3 separate regions of the Homo sapiens genome follow, and regions 1 and 2 are each linked to region 3. The links are contacts of gene promoters, found by promoter capture Hi-C in human tissues and cell types (Jung and others, 2019). All regions are on one chromosome and are shown on one strand. The core of a region is centred on a gene start or on the middle of the fragment in contact, and the rest is flanking DNA. Distances in the headings are between cores, read along the strand shown. Region 1 overlaps SMAD3 (SMAD family member 3). Region 2 overlaps SMAD3 (SMAD family member 3). Region 3 holds the start of C15orf61 (chromosome 15 open reading frame 61).

Region 1 (5,152 bases), core at 2,005-4,504, 450 kb before region 3:
TGGATAGGACTGAATACAAAAGTAGATTTTTTTTTTCATCTTTTTTTTCAGTTAGGGAAACCCAGTTGCTTGGGTGGATCCAGACAAAATGGATTTTCATCCTTGGATTTTGTGCCCACGCCTCTGGGTCACCTTGTGTCCCTTGGCAACAGCTGCTGCTGTTTTGGTCGTGGGCAGAAAACTAAAGGCCACGTCTTGGGGAGGTGGCTGGTTTGGCCCTGTGCTGGTGATATCAATGTGTCTGCTAAGCCCCATAGATTGCAGTGTTGCTTGTCAAATTGTCTGCTTTCACCACAACTGCCTTTTAGTTTGGAAAGTAGAGAAAGGAAAATGTTTAACTTAGTCATTCCCCCTGTGTGTGGGGGGTTGGTCACTGGGTGCTTAAAAACACTCTGCAAGATCTGGACTCCGGGGTTTAAGGAGCCCTCAGTCTAAGGAGATTAAGCCAAGTGTGTTTTGGCTAATATATAATCATGAGCAGCAACAGCAACATTTGGCAATTAGAGCTGTATACTAGGGACTTCCAGACCACAGGCTTGCTTCTCTGTGACACCAGCTCTGACTTGTTTCAATTATCAGGGGAGCTGGCGTGATACACACTTATCGACATAAAGAAGGTGAAAGAGATTGGTGCCAAGGAAGTGGTAAGAGCTTCATTTAGATACACCAACAAAGGGGCTGTCAGGATACTCTGAGGTCTGGCAGGATTGGCAGAATTTACACAAGTTTTATAACAGCCTCTCATGCCTCACCTGCTTGAGTACCTGAGTAAAGCTGCAGGTATCTTCCTTGCCAGTTTATAAGAATGGAATCAAAGCATTTGCCGCTGAATGAGAGTTGGTGTGTGAGCGTTATATGAGGAATAAGGAGCTCGGCACACTTAAAACTTAGTTTTCTGGTAGACACTGGTAGCTTGTACTTCCACCAGGGAATCCATGCCTTGGCCTCGTTGTTGGGAGCTAGACCAAGCTTAAAGCATTGCTTGTTTGGAAGGGAATTTGGGCTTTCTTGTGTCAGAGCACCCAGTCCAGTGGAAAATTGGAGAATTGAAGCAAACACTAGGTCTGACACACAGCATCTACTCCCTCCCTGTGAATCTGATGTTTTTTTTTTGGAGACAGAGTCTTGCCTTGTTGCCCAGGCTGGAGCGCAGTGGCATGATCTTAGCTCACTGCAACCTCTGCCTCCCGGTTCAAGCGATTCTTGTGCCTCAGCCTCCCGAGTAGCTGGGATTACAGGCGCCCGCCACCACGCCCAGCTAATTTTTGTATTTTTAGTAGAGACGGGGTTTCACCATGTTGGTCAGGCTGGTGTTGAACTCCTGACCTTGTGATCTGCCCGCCTTGGCCTGCCAAAGTGCTGGGATTACAGGCGTGAGCCACCGCGCCTCACCGAATCTGATCTTTTACTGTAGCCTCCTCTTATTATCTCCTTGACTTTTGCCAGGGTACTCTCACTTTGAGAAAGGAAAAAGATCCTAGTCTTTAACATGCCTTTTCCAGATTTCTGGGGATAGACCTATTACTAAGGCTGTAGAGGCCTCCCTTTTCTCTTGGCTGCACTTCAGAGCACCATGCCCGTGTGGCCCATTGGAAGCAAGCCCCCTTCCAGCTGCTAGGGAGGTGGTCCATTATCTCTTTGCTCTTGTTAAGTTTGATTAGGGGAGTTCCACGTAGGGCCTGAGAAGAGGAGGTGCCTGCAGGACAATAGGTAGCTGATGAGGGATCTGACTCAGCTGCAGCTGAACCTAGGCGCCACTTGACGTTCCCTGGGAACATTTAGAACCTTGGAACATGCTGCTTGCACCTGGGAGTGGAATGTTTGCAGACAGCCCCTCTGTTGTTACAGGGCTGGATTTTGTTGATTTATTGATATTTATTGGACCCTCCCATGTCTGAGTCAATTTTTTAGGTACCAGAGGAGGATGCAGAGACACGTTTGAGAAGCTCCCAGCCTGTGAGAAGCTTACACATCAGTAAGGGAAACATGAATAGGGCATTATTTGAGTATCTAACTGCTATCTCTTTCTCATTCCCAGCTACCAGTAGAAATATGAGATCTAGTATGGATGATTTTTGATGGGGGCGGGCGTTGATGTGCCTTTTAAATATTGTAGAATTCACTATGTTAGGAAATAAAATAATGACAGGCATCTGTTTTTTTCTGAAAAAAACACAAAATTCAGGTCCTGTACCTGCCATTTTACCACCTGCAAGGATTTGGGAATCCATTTAAGTTTCACAGCTTTTATATCTGCACCTGTCAAGTCAGGATGAGATAAGTTCTGTGGAAGTGTTTTGTGAACCAGAGAATTTGACAGGTATGTTACGTTTATACTTCATTCTGCATCATTCATTCATTATTGAATTATTCAGTCCTTCGTTGAGAACATACTACAATGACCACAGCAGGGTCCCTGTACTCAAAGAGCTCCCTGTCTAGAGCGGGAGACAGACTTGCCCAAAGGTATGAGGCATGAGCTGCAGCTGAGGAATGTGCTAAGTGCCCAGCAATGTGGAAACACAGTTAATTCTGTGGGAGGAGGTGTAGAGAGGAGGAGAACCCATGAGAGGTGGAAAACTAAGAAGGGGACAAGGGTTATCCAAAGGAAGCTTTTTGGACTGCAGTATGATGTTGGGAACTTTTTGGTACATGGGGATAGTTCCCTATAAGAATGAGGACGTCTTTATCCTCTTTTACTAAACTGAGTGCTGCTATAAATATGTTACCTTGTAACTGGCACTGAACAGCTAGTGACTTGGGTGCTATATTTTACTCCACTGTAAAGCATTTTCTCTTTGAAGTAAAAAGTAAGTTAGTACTGCAAACTGAAATTCAGGTTTCCTTGGTGGGAACAGGGACTTTAGATGTATCAGCTCAGAATATGACAGGGAGTGTTAATAAAAAGTGGACAACTTGGCTGGGCACGGTGGCTCACACCTGTAATCCCAAGCACTTTGGGAGGCCGAGGCAGGCGGATCACGAGGTCAGGAGATCACAACCATTCTGGCTAACACGGTGAAACCCTGTCTCTACTAAAAATACAAAAAAATTAGCCGAGCTTGGTGGCAGGCGCCTGTAGTCCCAGCTACTCGGGAGGCTGAGGCAAGAGAATGGCGTGAACCCAGGAGGCGGAGCTTGCAGTGAGCCGAGATCGCGCCACTGCACTCCAGCCTGGGCGACAGAGCGAGACTCTGTCTCAAAATAAATAAATAAATAAATGAAAAGTGGACAACTTGCAGATGGTTGTTTTGAAATTCAAAGCTTCGGTGTGACCTAGCTTCTCATTTCTCTAGTTAACACTTGCTGAGAATAAATCCTAGACGCCTGAGTTTCTGAATGAACATAGGTGCTTTTAGTGGTATATTTTTTAAAAAGTCTTTGCAAGGGTGAAGTTTTAAATGACAATTTTAATAACAGAAAAATATGAATACAGTCGCATTTAATTCTGATGAGAAATGCAAGAAGTTGATGAAATTGAAAGAATTTGTTTCAAGCTTATCACATCAGGAATCCAACTAAATGAGTTAAAAAATAAATATTGGTTTAATAATGTAAACATGTGATTGCTGTATTATTATAATGGAATAAAATTAACACGATTTAATGAACTGAGCGACCATTAATTTTTACTTGTTAATTTATTAGGAGATTTTAATGCCATTTGATGCACAGTACAGCCATTATTCTGCGTGAGCTCCTTAATGAAATAAATAAGACCAAGCAGGGCTTGCTTCAAATTGGAATCAGCTTTCATTCCTGTTAACCTTATTCTCCCACCTTTATTCACCTCTCCTTCAGCTTCCTGTAATTGCAATTAAGTTCTCTAAGATTGGAATGCAGTTTTCTTAATCAGCAAGTCTCATCAATAGTCCTAATTGACTTTTGCCCTTTTCTCCTTTGCCATATTGACTGATTAAAACAAAAGCAAAACTTAAAGACTCCATTCCCTCCCCCAAATCCCCATCTCATAGTGTTGGTTGGCTGGCAAGAGAACTGCCCAAGAAGGCTGCTCATGATGGCAGCCTGCTGAATGTGCAGGGGGTGGAAGTTCACCAGCCATGTGCAGACGTGAATGGCTGGTGCAGTGTTGGATGGGACTAACTCCTCCCTAAGGAGGGGTATGACCTTCTGTTGGCCTCTGACAAGTCCCTGAGCCATGGAGCCTTCAGTCTTCCCATCTTCAAGCACAATGGTTCCTGGAAACAGTGGGAAGTTGCCATCCTAAGCCCACCCTACAGAAGTTTGGTTTCTAATTTTACTGTGTTCTAAGCTTTAGAACCGAGACAATTCCAAGAGAACTTGTCCAGTTCATTTTTATGCCTTCCTTTAATGCCGTACCAGGTGCTAATTTCTGTGCCAGATAATGCGGACAAAATAGTGAATAAGGCAGATACTGTCCCTGGTGCCTTCTGTAGCTTCTAGTCCACTGGCTGTGAAACACAGGTTCTTTGGAGTTGTAAGAATGCTGTATGTGTTCACTCTTTAGCTAATTTGTAAATACTGTTTTTTTGGTGCCAAACCACATCCCCCAAGCTCTGCAGTTTATTGACTTGACAAGGATCTCTCTCTCTCTTTCTCTTTCTCTCTGTATAACATAATCCTTTGTTTCGACTTAACAGTTTGAGAAATAAACAAATCTATAGCATACTATCCACTGTTGGTTATCTAAGACCCTTCCTATAAACAGCAGCCTGCCACAGTGGCAACTGCTGTAGAATGTTTTGGCAGAGACTCAGTTTAAAATGAAAACACAGTAGAAGCCTATTAATTAAGAAGTTTGGCTAATTCTGGACTAGGCAAAAGTTTGTTTAGCAGGCCTTTTTGCCCCATAAATGCTGTCAAAGAAAAATTAATAAACAAGAGTTTGGGGATTATTTTGGAGGTAGGAGTCAGCAGACCTTGGTAGGTTCTAGACGTGGCTCTGTTTCTGATTAGCTGTGTGACCTGGGACAAGTCACCTTCTTTGGGCCTCGAATGTTCTCAACTGGAAAATAGGCTAGATAAACTCTATTGGAGGGCCTTTCTAACTTGGAATTGGTATTCATACAAGCATTTTATTTTATTTTATTTTATTTTTTGAGATGGAGTTTCGCTCTTGTTGCCCAGGCTAAAGTGCAATGGCGCGGTCTTGCCTCACTGCAACCTCCGC
Region 2 (4,879 bases), core at 775-3,274, 370 kb before region 3:
AACCCTTTGCTTGTTCCTGATTGTAGCTGTTTTAGGGATGCAGCTTTCAGACAAGGGCCACTTAGTTGATGAGGCCGGCTTAATCGAGGAGGGCTGTTGCCACCCTGACATTGTTAAGTGTGGGCCTGGCTTCTCTGAAGTCCTCCTTTCTTGCTTGTGTGGAATTCCTGTTTTCCTGCCCATAGGGGTTCTTTGCTGTCTTAGGTGAATTGCCCCAATGAACCAGAACCTTTTTTTTTTTAGGTACAATAGGAGGTCTGTACCCTTAGACAGAAAGGAATGCTAATTGGCCACTTAACTGTCCTCAGGGTACAGATGCCAGAATATACAGGGCACCCATTCTTTGTTACCATTTGGGATGGAAACTGCTTATATAAGCTTGTAAAGCTTTGGTTCAGAAAGCAAGAGAATGTGTATGGAACGTTAGCAATTGCTGTCATGCAAATGCTGCATTTTTTGCATGTAAAGGTACCTCTTTACCTCCATGGTCCTTAAACTAACTTTTTCAAGAAACATGGTCATTTCCCACCCTTCCTTTACTTCCAGCTCCCCATTCATACCCAACAGTGGCTAACTGAAAGGTTTGCAAATCCTGAAGGCTTTGGGGCTTCTTTTAAAAAGAAGAGACTGAGTTGTAAATGTCATAAGACTGAGATGGTTGTAAATGTCCCAACCATACTGTGTGACATTTGCTAGGAATTGTTGTAAAATCACTGGAGTGAGCGCTTGTCCTGAGGCACTGCCTCTCCGCGTGAATGTCACTGAGTCGCCCGGTTGACCCGTTGCATGTTATGCAGCACTTGTGACATTGTTTTATCTCTCTAGCCGGTGACTCATAATTAAGGAAGTCAAAACTGTGCAATTAACACAAAACCTCCTCATTTGCCCTCTTCACCTCTCCCCAACCCCCGCCCCCAGTCAGGAATGCCCGCCTGACATTTTCTCTAAGTCTTTGGAAACTTTAAGATTTGTTTTGATAGAACAAGGCCGCCAGTTATCATCGCCTGGTTCCACTTGTTTTACCCCAAAAGTCTGTGAGAATCTTTTCCAGGAAAAAAAAGAAAGAAAGAAAGAAAGTAAATCCCACCCCCAAGCGTGCAGTCTGCCCACAGGAAGTGATTCATGGTGCTCCGATTCGGGCAGACCTGACTGCAGGAGGCGGGAGGCTGGGAACCAGGTCTGGGAAAAGAGGGCAGAGAGAGGATACCCAGACCTAATGGCTTCTGCTCTGTGGAAGAAAGTGAAAAACAGAATGACTAAGAGTCCTGTAATAAGAATTGTTTGTTTTGTGAAGTTGAACTAATAGTGAGGTTTGCCGGCAGATAAGACTTGAGAAATTGCAGTTGTCAGGGGAGGGGACTTTTCCATGTCCTGCTTTTTTTTTTTTTTTTTTTTTATTAAGAGAGCAAAGCTATTTCTCAGTCTTTTTTTTTTTTTTTTTTTTTTTTTTGAGATGGAGTCTCTCTCTGTCGCCCAGGCTAGAGTGCAGTGGCACAATCTCGGCTCACTGCAACCTCCACCTCCCAGGTTCAAGTGATTCTCTTGCCTCAGCCTCCCCAGTAGCTGGGATTACAGGTGCCCACCACCATGCCTGGCTAATTTTTTTGTATTTTTAGTAGAGACGGGGTTTCACCATGTTGGCCAGGTTGGTCTTGGAACTCCTGACCTCAGGTGATCTGCCCACCTTGGCTACCCAGAGTGCTGGGATTACAGACGTGAGCCACCACGCCAGGCCTTATATCTCAGTCTTAAGACATTCATATATTAGTGGAAGGCCCAGATTTGTGTTTCAGTTCTACCTTGCCACCTCTAAGCCTGTTTTCTTTTCTTTGGAGAAGAGGGTCTAAGATGAGACCATTATCTCACAGTCTCCAATAGCTCTTTCTCCCCATTTTCCCTTTTATTTATTTATTTATTTATTTATTTTGAGACGGAGTCTCTCTCTGTTGCCCAGGCTGGAGTGCAGTGGCACAATCTCGGCTCACTGCAACCTCCACCTCCTGGGTTCAAGCGATTCTCCTGCCTCAGCCTCCTGAGTAGCTGGGACTACAGGCTTGCGCCACCATGCCCGGCTAATTTTTGTATTTTTAGTAGAGACAGGGTTTCACTATGTTGGCCAGGCTGGTCTCGAACTCCTGACCTTGTAATCCACCCACCTCAGCCTCGCAAAGTGCTGGGATTACAAGCATGAGCCATTGCACCCAGGCTATTTTCCCTTTTTCCTTTCCCTCTAAAGTTAGAGTTTTTGAAAAATATTTGATTTTTTTAAATTGACAAATAATTGTCCATATTCATGGGATACATAGTGATGTTTTGATACATATTAATGTCATTATGGTGATCACATCAGGTTAATTAGCATCTCCATCCTGTCAAGCATTTATCATTTCTTTGGGTTGGAAGCATTCAATATCCTCCTTCTATTTGAAACTATGTAATATATGAATGTTACTATGTATGTTACTATATAAGCATTCAATATTCTCCTATTTGAAACTATGTAATATATGATTATACATAGTAACAATCATATATTACATAATAATTGTAAACTATGTAATAATAATATTGTAATATATGATTGCTAGATATTTGAAGCTATATAATATATTATTGTTAAGTATAATCATCTTACAGTGGTTTAGGACACTAGAACTGATTTTTCCTCTTTAGCTGTAATTTTGAGACCTTTAACAAATTTCTCCCCATCCCTCTGTTCCCTTTACACTTTTCAGCCTCTAGTATCTTCTATTCTGTTTTTACAAAGTTAGAGTTTTGGGGCTGATAAATGTTTTTACCTAAATACTCATTTTTGTTTCCACCAAATGGAACATCATGTTGTCGTAGAATGAAGGAATCCTTTCTGTCCTATGGGTTATTTTCTTCTCCCTCAAACTGACAATGCAAATTAATTTGATTCCCCAAAGTAGTTTGGAAACAGAGAAGACTCTAAGTGTTGGCTACATGAACAGGCCTGCTGCCGAGCGAGAGGCCCAGATCACCCAGAATGAGAAGATGGGTCTAAACACACCTGGCTTTGTGACTTACTCCATTTCAAGCTTCCTGTATTGTTGGAGGTCAGCTTTTGGGGGTGAGGGATTTTAATGAAAGCTGAGGTGAAGTCCACTGTTGCCTTAAGCCCATCAGAACGTTGCCAAGGGCTGTGAGTATGCTGAATGGGTCCATGAGTGATCTCTTAAAAAAACATAAACCATTGTCAGGCCTAATTTTCAGCAGAGTGAAATGGCCACCCAGAAGATTCTGTGAAGCCTGGCAACTTTTCCCTTTCTTCCAGTAGTCACAGACCAACCCAGATCTTTGTAGCATCTTTTATTTGTGACTTGAAAGTTCTATGATCCTGCTGACACTCAAGAAAAAGCAATCCCCATCAACTTGGTGCTTGGAGAAAAAAGTTTGTGAAGACCAAAGCTATTAAATAGAAAAGCCCTAAACACTCTCCTCCTCCTCCTCCTTCAATATTTAACCGTCTTCTTTGCATGGGGGAAGGGAGGGGCTCTCACCACAGCCAAAAGAGAATCTCTGCTGATTTAAACCCAGTGTGCTTTGTAGTCATAGAGAACTGAGTTTGGAGTGTAACATCTAGGTTCAAGCCCAGGCACTGTTCCTTGCTGGGTGACTTTGGGCAAGTCACTCAGCATCAAAAATTTTTCATCTGTAAAATGGGAGTGATGAGATACTCAGCCTGCAGGATCCCTTTATCCAGTGAGTTACTGAGTGAGAAGTGCTGGGTAAACGCTTGCTCTGAGGTGTAAATTGCTTCTGTTTGGCCAGGTGCAGTGGCTCACGCCTGTAATCCAAGCACTTTGGGAGGCTGGGGCAGGTGGATCACCTGAGGTCAGGCGTTTGAGACCAGCCTGGCCAATATTGTGAAACCCCGTCTCTACTAAACATGCAAAAATTAGCCAGGCGTGGTGGTGCATGCCTGTAATCCCAGCTACGCAGAAGGCTGAGGCAGGAGAATCACCTGAACTGGAGGTTGCAGTGAGCCAAGATCACTCCGCTGTACTCCAGCCTGGGCAACAAGAGCAAAACTCCGTCTTGGGGGGCGGGCGGGGGGGATTCCTTCTGTTTTCCCGCATCTTGCTCATCTCAGAGCATTTCCTTAGCCCAGGGGGATCTCAAGGGGAGGGAAGAGAGCAGATTTGCCCCCCAGGGGACATTTGGCAATGTTTAGAGGTATTTTTTTTCAGTTGTCACAGCTGCAGGTGGGTCACAGCTACCGGCATCCAGTGTGAGGGAGCCAGACATGCTGTTAAGCATTCTATATCTGTCTCTACACAGGACAGCCCCCTAGCCCCAACAAAGATTAGCCCAAAACATCAGTAGTGCCAACGTTGAGAAACTCTGGGCCTCGCCAAATCCATAGCCTGATGTTGAAAAGTTCTTGGTGTCTGCGTGCTTTACAGATAATTATCATCAGGCTGAACTTTCTCCAGTAACCAACCTTCTTCTTTTCCAGAAAGTACAAATTCTGTGCCCACCCATGGCCCTTGGGAGGTGGGATAGCCCAAGGTCTAGGCGATCTTTGTGTGTTTCCAGTGGAGTCCAGCCCTCCCAAGGATAAGGCAAGGTGTTTCTTGGCTTCCCCCTCCAAGGATCTGCCCAGGAGCCTTCTGCAACCTCTGTGGCTCCTGCCCAGGTTGCCCCATCTGCCTGGGGCACTTGTCATGGACCTGAGCCGGCTGCTCTGGAGAACTAGCAGAGGGAAAGAGAGGACTAAATATAATGGGAAGAAGTGAAGAAGAGGCCAGCTGCTGGTCTGGAGGATGGCATAGGGGGCTGCAGCCTGGCATTTTATTTGGTTTCCCCCTAGACTGGCAGCATTCATGCCCAAAGCACTAGATATTGTCCATTTATA
Region 3 (4,780 bases), core at 1,586-4,085:
CGGAGTCTCGCTCTGTCGCCCAGGCTGGAGTGCAGTGGCGCGATCTCGGCTCACTGCAAGCTCCGCCTCCCGGGTTCACGCCATTCTCCTGCCTCAGCCTCCCGAGTAGCTGGGGCTACAGGCGCCCGCTACCACGCCCGGCTAATTTTTTGTATTTTTAGTAGAGACAGGGTTTCACCGTGTTAGCCAGGATGGTCTTGATCTCCTGACCTCGTGATCCGCCCGCCTCAGCCTCCCAAAGTGCTAGGATTACAGGCGTGAGTCACTGGACCCGGCCGAGAACTACATTTCTAAAGTAATGTCATATGTCCTGAGTGCTTTCTCCCCCTGGCTTTTCCACTGTTTTAGCTGGGGATAAGAACAACTCAATTCAAAGGATCCACTTTCACAACCACAACCCCCAGCTTCAACATTTTGCAAGCAACAGGATCAAGAGTCCTGTGGCAGTGGGGCCAGCAATGGCATGCTCGCCAGACTAGTTCCTGTTGGTCTTATCTATGTCTTTGCTGTTCGGACTCTCCTCGTTCCTTCCCATTTTCTGAGCCTGGTTCTCTAGACTTCTTGTTTACTATTTGGGCTACCTAATTTTCCTCCAATGAATCCCCTTTCTGCTCAAAACAAAAGAAAATCCAAGACAACAACACACTGAAGTTTCATTGTTTTGTTTTTTATCTATAAAGTTAATATAAAAAATTTGAACTTACAGTTGGACATGGTGGCTTCTGTAATCCCAACGACTCAAGAGGCTGAAGTGAGAGACTGGCTTGAGTTCTGGACCAGCTTAAGCAACATAGTGAGAACCCACGCCTAAAAAATAAGTAAAATAAAAAGTTAAAAAAAGTTTGAACTTATGCTTAGTAATAAAGCATAAGTTATTTTTGTTTTTTTTGTTTTTTTTTGAGACGGAGTCTCGCTCTGTCGCTCAGGCTGGAGTGCAGTGGCACGATCTCAGCTCACTGCAACCTCTGCCTCCTGGGTTTAAGTGATTCTCCTGCCTCAGCCTCCCGAGTAGCTGGGACTACAGGCATGTGCCACCACGCCCGGCTAATTTTTCTATTTTTAGCAGACACAGGGTTTCGCCATGTTGGCCAGGCTGGTCTCGGACTCCTGACCTCAGATGATCCACTGGCCTCGGCCTCCCAAAGTGCTGGGATTACAGGCGTGAGCCACCGTGCCCGGCCTAAAGCATAAGTTTTAACCAACTTTATATGTTGGGGACCTTCAACAGATTTCGTTTGAAAAAGGACTCCACTCTTTTTCAAAATTTAATTTGGTCAGGTGCAGAAGCTCACACCTGTAATCCCACCACTTTGGGAGGCCGAGGCGGGCGGATCACTTGAGCCCAAGTGTTCAAGACCAGCCTGGGCAACATGGCAAAATTCCACCTCTACAAAAAATACCAAAAAAAGCAGCCGAGTGTAGGTGGCACACACCTGCAGTCCCAGCTACTTGGGAGGCTGAGGGTGGGAGGATCTCTTGAGCCCAGGAGGCAGAAGTTGCAGTGAGCCGAGATCGAGCAGCTGCACTCCAGCCTAGACAACAGTGAGATCCTTTCTAAAAAAAAGAAAAGAAAAAGAAATTCTATAAAGTTCAAGTTCTATAAGGTAAAGTTCAACTTCAAATTCTGTAAGGTAAAGTTCAAGATTCGGCATATGTTGGTGGGTGCTCAATGTTCAATAAAAACTGGGGAATAGGCCTGGTGCAGTGGCTCACGCCTGTAATCCCAGCACTTTGGGAGGCCGAGGCAGGTGGATCACGAGGTCATGAGTTTGAGACCAGCCTGGCCAACATGGTGAAACCCCGTCTCTATTAAAAATACAAAAATTAGCCAGGCGTGGTGGTGCACGCCTGTAATCCCAGCCACTCGGGAGGCTGAGGCAGGAAAATCACTTGAACCTGGGAGGCAGAGGTTGCAGTGAGCTGAGATTGCACCACTGCACTCCAGCCTGGGCAACAGAGTGAGACTCCGTCTCAAAAAAACAAAACAAAACAAAACAAAAAACTGGGGAATATAAAATTTCGCCATACTATCCTACATCCCCCTTGAGTTTTTAGCAACGATAGTAATTGTTATATGATGCTTAACGCGTAATTACTGTACCTCATTTACATAAGGTGGTTTCAGACACATCATCTTGTTTATGTATGGCCTCTCCAAACAAAATGAGTTTAGGACAAAAGAGGAAATCCTTTTCTAAAAGCAGTTTTGTCCGTAAGTTACTGCCTCAAGAGGCCGCAAAGTTTGAGCAAAGCTTTTCCGAAAGTAATGGATTGGTAATGGGTGACTGAGGTCCACAAAGCTCGATAAGAGGCTCCTGGTCCGTCTACCAGGTTCTTAGAGGGAGGTGCCTTTGTGTGTTCGGACGCTGCACTGAGACACGTGAGGTTTTTAAATAAACTTTTGATTTTGAAATCTCTGGGACTAATTTTAAACAGTGAACCCGACAGCGAGGACCTACACACAAAAGTGCTCCCGGCCTTACCAAACAACGCAGACCCGGGGTCACGCCTCGTCCTGTTTCAACAACAACACCCAAGGGCTTCCCTGGAGCCCAGGGCGTGGGAGGGAGACTTGGGTTTGAGTTCTGCACCTTGCGGAGGTGGTTAGTTATTTAATTGTCTTCCACCTGAATTTTCCTCAGGCCCAAATTGATGAGACCTCCCCGAATCCCTCCCCTGCCCGAGTTACTAATGACGGCGTGAGGTCACACCTGGCCACTCAAAACCAGCTCCTTGACGCAGGTGACCCTCCGCCTCGCGCAGCTCACGCTTCCCATCCCCCGGACTCCACCCCCAGCGGGAGGCCACGGGGCCGCTGTGCGCACGCGCCGCCGCACACCGGGGGCTCTCGGGCACCCGCGCGGCGCCGGTTGGCCTTCCCGGCGCTCGCCCGGGGGCGCGCTTGCGCGCCAGCGGCTGCGGACACCAGCCTGCGTCCCCGGCGCGGCGGGCCATGGAGGCCCTGAGGAGGGCCCACGAGGTCGCGCTCCGCCTGCTGCTGTGTAGGCCGTGGGCCTCGCGCGCCGCCGCCCGCCCCAAGCCCAGCGCCTCGGAGGTGCTGACGCGGCATCTGCTGCAGCGGCGCCTGCCGCACTGGACCTCCTTCTGCGTGCCCTACAGCGCCGTCCGCAACGACCAGTTCGGCCTCTCGCACTTCAACTGGCCGGTGCAGGGCGCCAACTACCACGTCCTGCGCACCGGCTGCTTCCCCTTCATCAAGTACCACTGCTCCAAGGCTCCCTGGCAGGACCTGGCCCGGCAGAACCGCTTCTTCACGGCGCTCAAGGTCGTCAACCTCGGTGAGTGGCGACTGCCGCGCCCACGCGGTGAAGCCCGCCCGGCCGGGACGGCCCCTCAGCCACCGAGCACGTGACGAACGCTCGCAGGCCGGTAGAGTCCCGCGGGAGTCAGCTCTGCCTCCCGGCGCCGGCTTCGCCTGGGGTCCTTTGTACTCCTCGCCCAGGGGGTCCCCAGCTTGCTGAGCTCCTGGCACCCGAAGCCGTTCGCCTGCTGCGGGCGCGTCCTCGGGCCTAGGGAGGGGCGGGTCGCCCTCCTGTCCTGCCCATGTTAACCAGAGTAGACCCCTGGCCTGGGCAGTAAGCCAGGGGGCGTCAGGAAACGCCCCCTAGAAAGTGGCTCTGAAGTTGACATCCGTCCTACTGCATGGCAGGACTCATTCCCGTGAACATCACTTTGCAGCTGCGTTTATGTTGCAATAACTGGAACTACTCTTTTAAGTTTCTTTTGTTTTCTTTGTATGAATTCCCGGCAAGTTCGTTTTACTAAAAGCACCAAAGGTTTTCACCAGACATAACAGCTTCCTGAGGTGCTAGGCCTAAAAGATTTTTAAAGATCTTTAATATTTGTATATTTTCATGGAGACGCCCTGAGGATGTTTACTGTCACTAGGTGTTTATTTTCTTTTGGTTTAATGACAGAAGAGGGAGGTACGAACATGGACATGGGTGTATCTTTTATAGGTCAGGGGAAAACAGAAGGCCTCAAGATGTTTTGAACTTACTAATAGCTGGCATAAAATCAATCTAGATTTCAGTGATTCAAAATCTAGCCATGGAGCTGAATGAACCATGTTACCCAGCCAGGTTTTTAAAGCCAGGATTAAAACTAAACCCTGCGCAGCCGTACTACTAATACTATTACATAATCTGATCGTCCATTAAGGTTAAAAATAGTCTGTGTATTTGTGCTTATAATAACACATATGTCAGTCGTGGGCTTTTTGAGCCGTTACTCCACTGGACTGTCCTGTAAGGAGATAATTGTTTAGCAACGTGTTATCCTTTAAAAATGCCTCTTATTATTTGGCTGATGGACTGTATAGAGCATGCCCACTACTTTGGAGGTTGGTTGAAGTTGAAGGGTGAGGTGACTTAGGAAATTCAATTCGAAATTATTTGGAAAGACTGGAGTGTTAACTAGATTCGAGAAGTATAAGTTTATTTTAGCATTTTTCATAAGTAAGAAATCATTCTTCCCTAAAGAATAATAGGTTAGGAAAAGCATAACGGGAGAGTTATAGGTAAACCATGAGCCAAATGCCTTTTTTTCCTTTAAAGTCACATTTTTAGTGTTGACATTTTGTTTAAGAGCACCTTAATGATTAGGGGCCTCTCTTTTAGATTTAGAGATTAAGACATCCAAAAAAAGTGGATACTCAGAACATTCCACACATAGAAAAGTAAAACCTTTTAAAGTTGAAAGAAACAACAGTTGTAGTGTTTTTTGTTTTGTTTTGTTTATTAATGTGGGAGAGTGATTT

What was found. Contacts are between HindIII fragments. The study calls those that stand out against the background at their distance.
Region 1: a fragment that was not itself captured here is called in contact with the fragment with the promoter of C15orf61 in region 3 in 1 of the 25 tissues and cell types used here (dorsolateral prefrontal cortex).
Region 2: a fragment that was not itself captured here is called in contact with the fragment with the promoter of C15orf61 in region 3 in 1 of the 25 tissues and cell types used here (neural progenitor cells).

The regions. Positions count from the first base shown.
Region 1 is chr15:67,068,611-67,073,762 of GRCh38, forward strand. The region is part of intron 1 of SMAD3 (SMAD family member 3); the gene reads left to right. Among named protein-coding and RNA genes, the nearest start is that of SMAD3, 5.6 kb to the left of the region's middle. The HindIII fragment of the contact is 3,577 bases long and covers 1,467-5,043 here.
Region 2 is chr15:67,149,424-67,154,302 of GRCh38, forward strand. The region is part of intron 1 of SMAD3 (SMAD family member 3); the gene reads left to right. Among named protein-coding and RNA genes, the nearest start is that of SMAD3-AS1, 4.9 kb to the left of the region's middle. RefSeq lists enhancers at 524-1,331, 3,855-4,024. The HindIII fragment of the contact is 4,294 bases long and covers 1-4,171 here.
Region 3 is chr15:67,518,296-67,523,075 of GRCh38, forward strand. It overlaps C15orf61 (chromosome 15 open reading frame 61), which reads left to right and starts at 2,836. Exons shown (of 2, transcript NM_001143936.2): 1 at 2,836-3,299. The coding sequence starts at 2,954. IQCH-AS1 (IQCH antisense RNA 1) reads right to left here and starts at 3,549. Exons shown (of 6, transcript NR_040052.1): 1 at 3,224-3,549; 2 at 705-807. RefSeq lists enhancers at 2,423-2,502, 3,143-3,262 and a silencer at 2,683-3,032. The HindIII fragment of the contact is 11,118 bases long and covers 1-4,780 here.